2 separate regions of the Homo sapiens genome follow, and region 1 is linked to region 2. The links are contacts of gene promoters, found by promoter capture Hi-C in human tissues and cell types (Jung and others, 2019). All regions are on one chromosome and are shown on one strand. The core of a region is centred on a gene start or on the middle of the fragment in contact, and the rest is flanking DNA. Distances in the headings are between cores, read along the strand shown.

Region 1 (2,900 bases), core at 297-2,796, 550 kb before region 2:
CTTGGGAGGCTGAGACAAGAGGATCACTTGAGCTTCAGAGGCAGCAGTTGGCAGTAAGCTGAGATCATACCGCTGTACACCAGCCTGGGCGACAGAGTGAGACTCTGTCTCAAAAAAAAAAAAAAAAAAAAGAAAAAGAAAAATACTACAGAGTGGATATTTTTTCTTATCAACATATAGACCTACCTTATTCATTTTAATAGCTACATATTAATAGTAGTATAATAGTATTCCACCATGTAACATATCTGTTTAACTTTCCCCCTACTGATGGGCATTCATGCTGTTTCCATGTGTTAATTAGAAATATATATTATAGTGAACACCTATTGCTTTTGCCTGGTCTGCATCCTTTTGTTCCTTCTGATAACACCACCTTATTCTTACAGTGGAAAGTACCATTTCCCCAGTGTTACTTCATGTGGTTAAAGTGGGGGCAACCCATCTCCCACTGACATCCCGAGGATGCCACAAGCCCAATTACTCAGAATACTCTATCTGCCTGCCTGGGAAAACTGGCTCAGGAATGGGTGCCATGTCTCTCATGTAACAAGAGTCAACTCTAGGACTTTTGTGGAACTATAGAGAAGGAGGAGTATTCTCTCTCTTTCTCTCTCTCTTTCTCTCTCTCTCTCTCTCTCTCTCCCTGATCGCTAAACTGAAAGCAGCTCAGCCTGGAGTTGCCAGGGACCACCACATGGAGAAAGCCTATTTGAGAATGAAGCTAATGCAGAGAAAGAAGAGGTGAGAAAAAAAGAGAGGCAAATGTATCACATACCTATGGACCAAGGACATTATTAGTCCTGTATCTGGATGGCTTGAAGTGAGAATGCTTTTGACTTCTCAGTTCTGTGAGCCAAGAAATTCTCCTCTCCCTCTCTCAAGTGAGCTTGAACTGGGATTCTACTCTTGGCAAATAAAAGCATCTAGACAAATAGGCATGCAATACTACAAAAAAAAATCCTTAAGCCTATATTTTTGGGCATGTTTGTAAATTTTTTTTTTTTTTTTTTTTTTTTTTTTTTTTTTTTTAAGACAGAATCTCACTCTGTCGCCCAGGCTGGAGGGCAGTGGCGCGACCTCGGCTCACTGTAACTTCCACCTCCCGGGTTCAAGGGATTCTCCTGTCTCAGCCTCTGGAGTAGCTGGGATTACAAGCATGCGCCACCGTGCCCGGCTAATTTTTATATTTTTAGTAGAGACAGGGTTTTACCATGTTGGCCAGGCAGATCACCTGACGCGCTGGGCCTCCCAAAGTGCTTGGATTATAGGCGTGAGCCACCATGCCCTGCCCGGTAAACATATCTTGAATGTTAATTCCTTAAACAGGAAATGCTGAGTCAAATGCTTGCATAGTTAATATTTTAGTATATAGTGCCAAATTGCCAGTTTTGGTTTTTTTTTTTTAAGTCAGGGTCTCACTCTATCACCCAGGCTATAGTGCAGTGGCACAAACCATGGCTCACTGCAGCCTTGACTTCCCAGGCTCAAGCAATATTCCCACCTCAGCCTCCCGAGTGGCTGGGACTTACAGACGTGTGACACCACGCCTGGCTAATTTTTAATTTTTTGTTGAGACAGGGTCCCACTAGGTTGCCCAGGTTGGTCCTGAAGTCCTGGGCTCGAGCAGTTCTCCCACCTCATCCTTCCCAAACTGCCAGAGTTCTAAATCTTCTTTGGTCCCTATTCTGACTCTAGGCTTGGGCCTATTTTCAACATTTAGCACGACAGTCCCCATTACTTGAGTACTCAGGTCTGTGAGGGTATTTAAAAATAAAATGGCAGCCGGGTGCAGTGGCTCACGCCTGTAATCCCACCACTTTGGGAGGCCAAGGTGGGTGGATCACTAGGTCAGAAGATTGAGACCATCCTGGCTAACACGGTGAAACCCCGTCTCTACTAAAAAATACAAAAAAATTAGCCAGGCGTGGTGGTGGGTGACTGTAGTCCCAACTACTCAGGAGGCTGAGGCAGGAGAATGGCATGAACCCAGGAGGCAGAGGTTGCAGTGAGCCGAGATTGTGCCACTGCACTCCAGCCTGGGTGACAGAGCGAGAATCCGTCTCAAAAAAATAAATAAATAAATAATAAAATAAAATAAAATTGCAGGTTATATTCCTTTTAGAACATTAATTAAGCCTGGGCATGGTGGCTCACACCTGTAATCTCAGCACTTTGGGAGGCTGAGGCAGGAGGATTGCTTGAGGCCAAAAGTTCGAGACTAGCCTGGGCAACATAGGGAGACCCCATGTTTACAAAAAATAAAAAAATTAGTTGAGCGTGTGATGTATGCCTGTGGTCCCAGCTACTCAGGAAGCTGGGGTAGGAGAATCTCTTGAGCCCAGGAGGTTGAGGCTGCAGTGAGCTGTGATGACACCACTGCACTTCAGCCTAGGTGACAGAGCAAAACCTCATCTCCAAATATATATATATTATATATATATTTATATTTTATATTTATATAAACATATATATATTTGGAGATGAGGTCTTGCTCATATATGTATATGTATATATATATTAGGATATATATATATATACACACACACATATACATATATATATTAGGTGCTGTGCCTATCTTGTTCACTACTGTATCCCTAAGACTTAGCTTAGAATAGTACTTAACCCAAGTGGGATGCTCAAGAATATCTCTTTAATAAATGCATGAACAGAGACATAGCAGCCTCTGGGACTTGGTTTATTTTTTGTACTTGGAAAGCTTTCCTTACTCTTCCATTTTTATATGTTCAAATAAATCATAGTCGTTTTTTAAAGCTCAGCCCCATACATGCCACTCTCTCTATAAAACCTTTTCTCTTTCTCAAAATTAGAAACCATTTTTTCTTTCAGAACTTCCTCATTTTATATGCATTTTAAAAATATATATAACATTCTAC
Region 2 (3,044 bases), core at 369-2,868:
AGTTGTATATTCTTCCCTTCCCCTTCCGCCAAAAAGTGGAGATCCAAACCTAGATTGTCATCGACTGGGGCTGGCTGAAGGTCTCTGAATAGCCGAGTGGGAGCTGGCGGCGCTGAGCCCAGCCCAGCCGAGGGCCACCGGCGCCATTCTGCACCAACCCCCAGCACAAGGGGAGGAGGCAACACCAGTCCACACCAGGGGCTCTGCGGTTTCTCCCCCAGGCCAAGGGGAAGGGCGCCCAAGGTGGATAACCAGCCCTTGGTTTCCTGGGCGAGAACATGCCAGGGCAGGGGCAGGAAGGCTCTCTCACCCCTAGAATGACGCAGCAGAGGCCAGAGGCCCTGCGAAGCCTGTCCCCTTCTACTCCAGTTCTTGTCTCCGCCAGCCTAGCTCCTCGTCCCTATTCACTGATATCTTTGAGGCTTTTATCCAGCACCCCACCCCGCACACACATCCTCCCTACCATCCATTAACCACCCAGCTGCTGGTGGTTCCACGGAGCCGCCTTACACTCCCTCCCTTTCGCACATGGCCGGTGGACGAGATGATTTCGCCCCTCCTGGCAGGATCCCACCCAGGCCAGCTTTGGGGTCCTGGCTTGGTTGCCAGGACAAACCCAGAGAGAGGAGAAGGACGAACTGAGTGTCTTTAGTCATCTTCCAAACTAATTAAATTGTGGGCTCACCTCTGCCAAAGCCCAGGTTCTGGGGCTGTGAAGAAAGCCCGCCCACCCCCATGACAACAGCTCGCAGGAACCGAGGAGCCGGCCGGCCCAGGCCTCCAAGGTCACGGGGAGGGGGTCAGGGCGGAAAAGGCAGTGGAGTGAGGGTGCCGCCCTCGGGCCGTGCTAATCCCGCTCCGCTCCGTGCCGCCGAGGCGGGGTCCTGGCCACGCAGGAGGTGCGCCTCGGAGGAGGGCGGCGAGCGGCTACGGGGTGGGGAGCAAGGGGCGCGCGGGCGGCAGGCATGGAACGGACGCGGCGCATCTCGCCCACCGCGGGACGCCCGGACGGCGGCCGGCGCGCGCGGCCCGCCTCGAGCCCGAGAGGGCGGGGAGACAATGCCTGTCCGGCGGGGCAGTCCAGGCCGCACGCTCCCGCCCGCGGACACGGGCCGCTCCTACCCGGGCGAGAGGGCAGCGGCGGGAAGGCGCCGGGAGCGATGGCCACCCCGGCCCCGCGAGGCGCGGCAGGCCCCGCTCGCCCTCTCCCGCGCCCGCCTGGCGTGCGCTTCACCCGGCAAGTCCCGGGGCCACAGACCCACCTCCTCCTCCAGGGCGCCGCCGGAGCCCGCGCCGGAGCCGGTGCCGGTGCTGCCGCCGTGCTCGCCGTCCGGCTTCAGGTTGCTCATGGTGCGGGGGAGGGGGCGGCGGGAAGGAACGCGAGGGCGAGCGCGGCGCCGGCCCCGCGGGAAGTGGGAAGGGGCGCGGGGAGCGGTGCGCTCGCGGGTGCGGAGCGGGTGGCGGGGGACCCACGGGGCAGTGAGAGGGGCAGCCTCCGCGTCGGGCCAGGGTCACATCAAGTTTGGCGGGTGCGGAAGGTGGGGAGGGGGTGCGGCGGGGGAGGCAGTGGGAGCCGGAGGGGCCGCCGCCTCCGCCTTTTCACTGCGACCGGCGAGTGCGCCGCGGCGGCGGCGGCGGCGGCAGCGGCGGCGGGGGGCGGGCGCCGGGGGAGGGGGCGGGCGCCGGCGGCGGGGGGCGGGGCCGGAACCGGCCTCAGCTGGGGCCCGGCCAGCCCCCTCCCCCGCCCGCCGCGCGGTCTCCGGGGGAACGCGCAGCCAATCCCCACCGCCCACCGTGGGCTCGCCCCGGCCCCGGCCGCGGGGCGCCGGCCTCCGGCCGGGCCTTTCCCCTCTCTCTCGCCTGGGTCAGCGCTCTCCCTCTCTCCTCTTCCCCCGCGCCCTTCTCCACGGCGAGTTTTTAAACTTTGATGAACTCGCCCGGCGAACTTTCTTAAAGGGGCCGCGCGCTGCGCGCCCCAGCCCGCGGGAGGTGGAGCCCCGTGCCCCGCACCCAGCGCCCCGGTCCCTGGGCGGCCCTGCCCGGGCGGCCTCGCGCTTAGGGCACCCGCAGCGAGGTTTCCGGGCCGTCGACTCCCCTTGTATCTTGATCTAGGGTTTTGGGGTTCCCGACGCACTCATTCTGCCCCTAAATCCAGTCGCGCAGACCTCAGCTCCGGGGGACCGAGTTCTGGGGGTGATGGCCGGGGGGAGGGGGTTGGGAGACACCTGAGCTTTGGCCCGGGCTGGGCGCTGTTTTGCTGAGTGACCTTGAGGAAATCACTTCCCCTCTCTGGCCTCAGGCTCCCAGCCCAGAGGGTGGGACTTAGGATCTCAAACTCCCTTCCCACTCCCAGTCACTATCTGAATAGGACTTAGGTGGGGATTCGAGTGTTGGGACCCCAATGGTCATTAGCGAGGGCTGCCTCGAATGACCAAGAAGGTTCTGTTGCCCACCTTGCCCTCAACACGCCTGGCTTTCGGGTCTTCTCGCTCCTCCCCCGACCTCAGTGCCCCTCACACCTTTCCCTGCCTCCTATTCTGAGCCCGAAGGCTGGGGACGGATGTAATAGCCTAGAGGCTGGGGGAGGTGGGGGAGGTCGTCGTGACTCCCCCCGCACCCCCGCGCAGGTCAGTAGGGCGCGGCCTCTGGGTCGGTTTTCTCTTCTATTTGAAAACCCAGCCGATGGGGGCCCGCCCTGCTGCCACAGTAGAAACCCGCACCCACCTCGGGGAGCGCTGGAAGCGCTGCAGCCTGAATCCGGCAGAGCCGCGGGAGAACTGGGTCCCTCCTCAGTGCCCCTTCTCCTGGACGGGGCGGAGGTTGCGGTGACCCGAGATCTTGCCATTGCACTCCAGCCAGGGCAACAAGAGCGAAACTCCGTCTCAAAAAAAGAAAAGAAAAAAGAAAAGCTGGATTTGCAGTCACGGACTGGTTAGGATCCCAGACCGTGGACAAGTGCCTGAGCCCCCAGAACCTCTGTGTGTCGACCTCCTGAATTAGGTAGGACTAGCACCACAGGATCACTGTGCTGTGGCTTAGTCTTC

The links. The method cuts DNA at HindIII sites, captures the fragments that hold promoters and counts their contacts. A contact is called where the count stands out against the background at its distance.
Region 1: a fragment that was not itself captured here is called in contact with the fragment with the promoter of RBPMS2 in region 2 in 2 of the 25 tissues and cell types used here (spleen and thymus).

The regions. Positions count from the first base shown.
Region 1 is chr15:64,228,908-64,231,807 of GRCh38, forward strand. All of the region lies in intron 4 of CSNK1G1 (casein kinase 1 gamma 1), which reads right to left. Among named protein-coding and RNA genes, the nearest start is that of PPIB, 67 kb to the left of the region's middle. The HindIII fragment of the contact is 8,680 bases long and covers 1-2,900 here.
Region 2 is chr15:64,773,971-64,777,014 of GRCh38, forward strand. It overlaps RBPMS2 (RNA binding protein, mRNA processing factor 2), which reads right to left and starts at 1,619. Exons shown (of 8, transcript NM_194272.3): 1 at 1,263-1,619. The coding sequence starts at 1,349. RefSeq lists enhancers at 1,480-2,326, 2,327-3,044 and a silencer at 1,795-2,044. The HindIII fragment of the contact is 13,175 bases long and covers 1-3,044 here.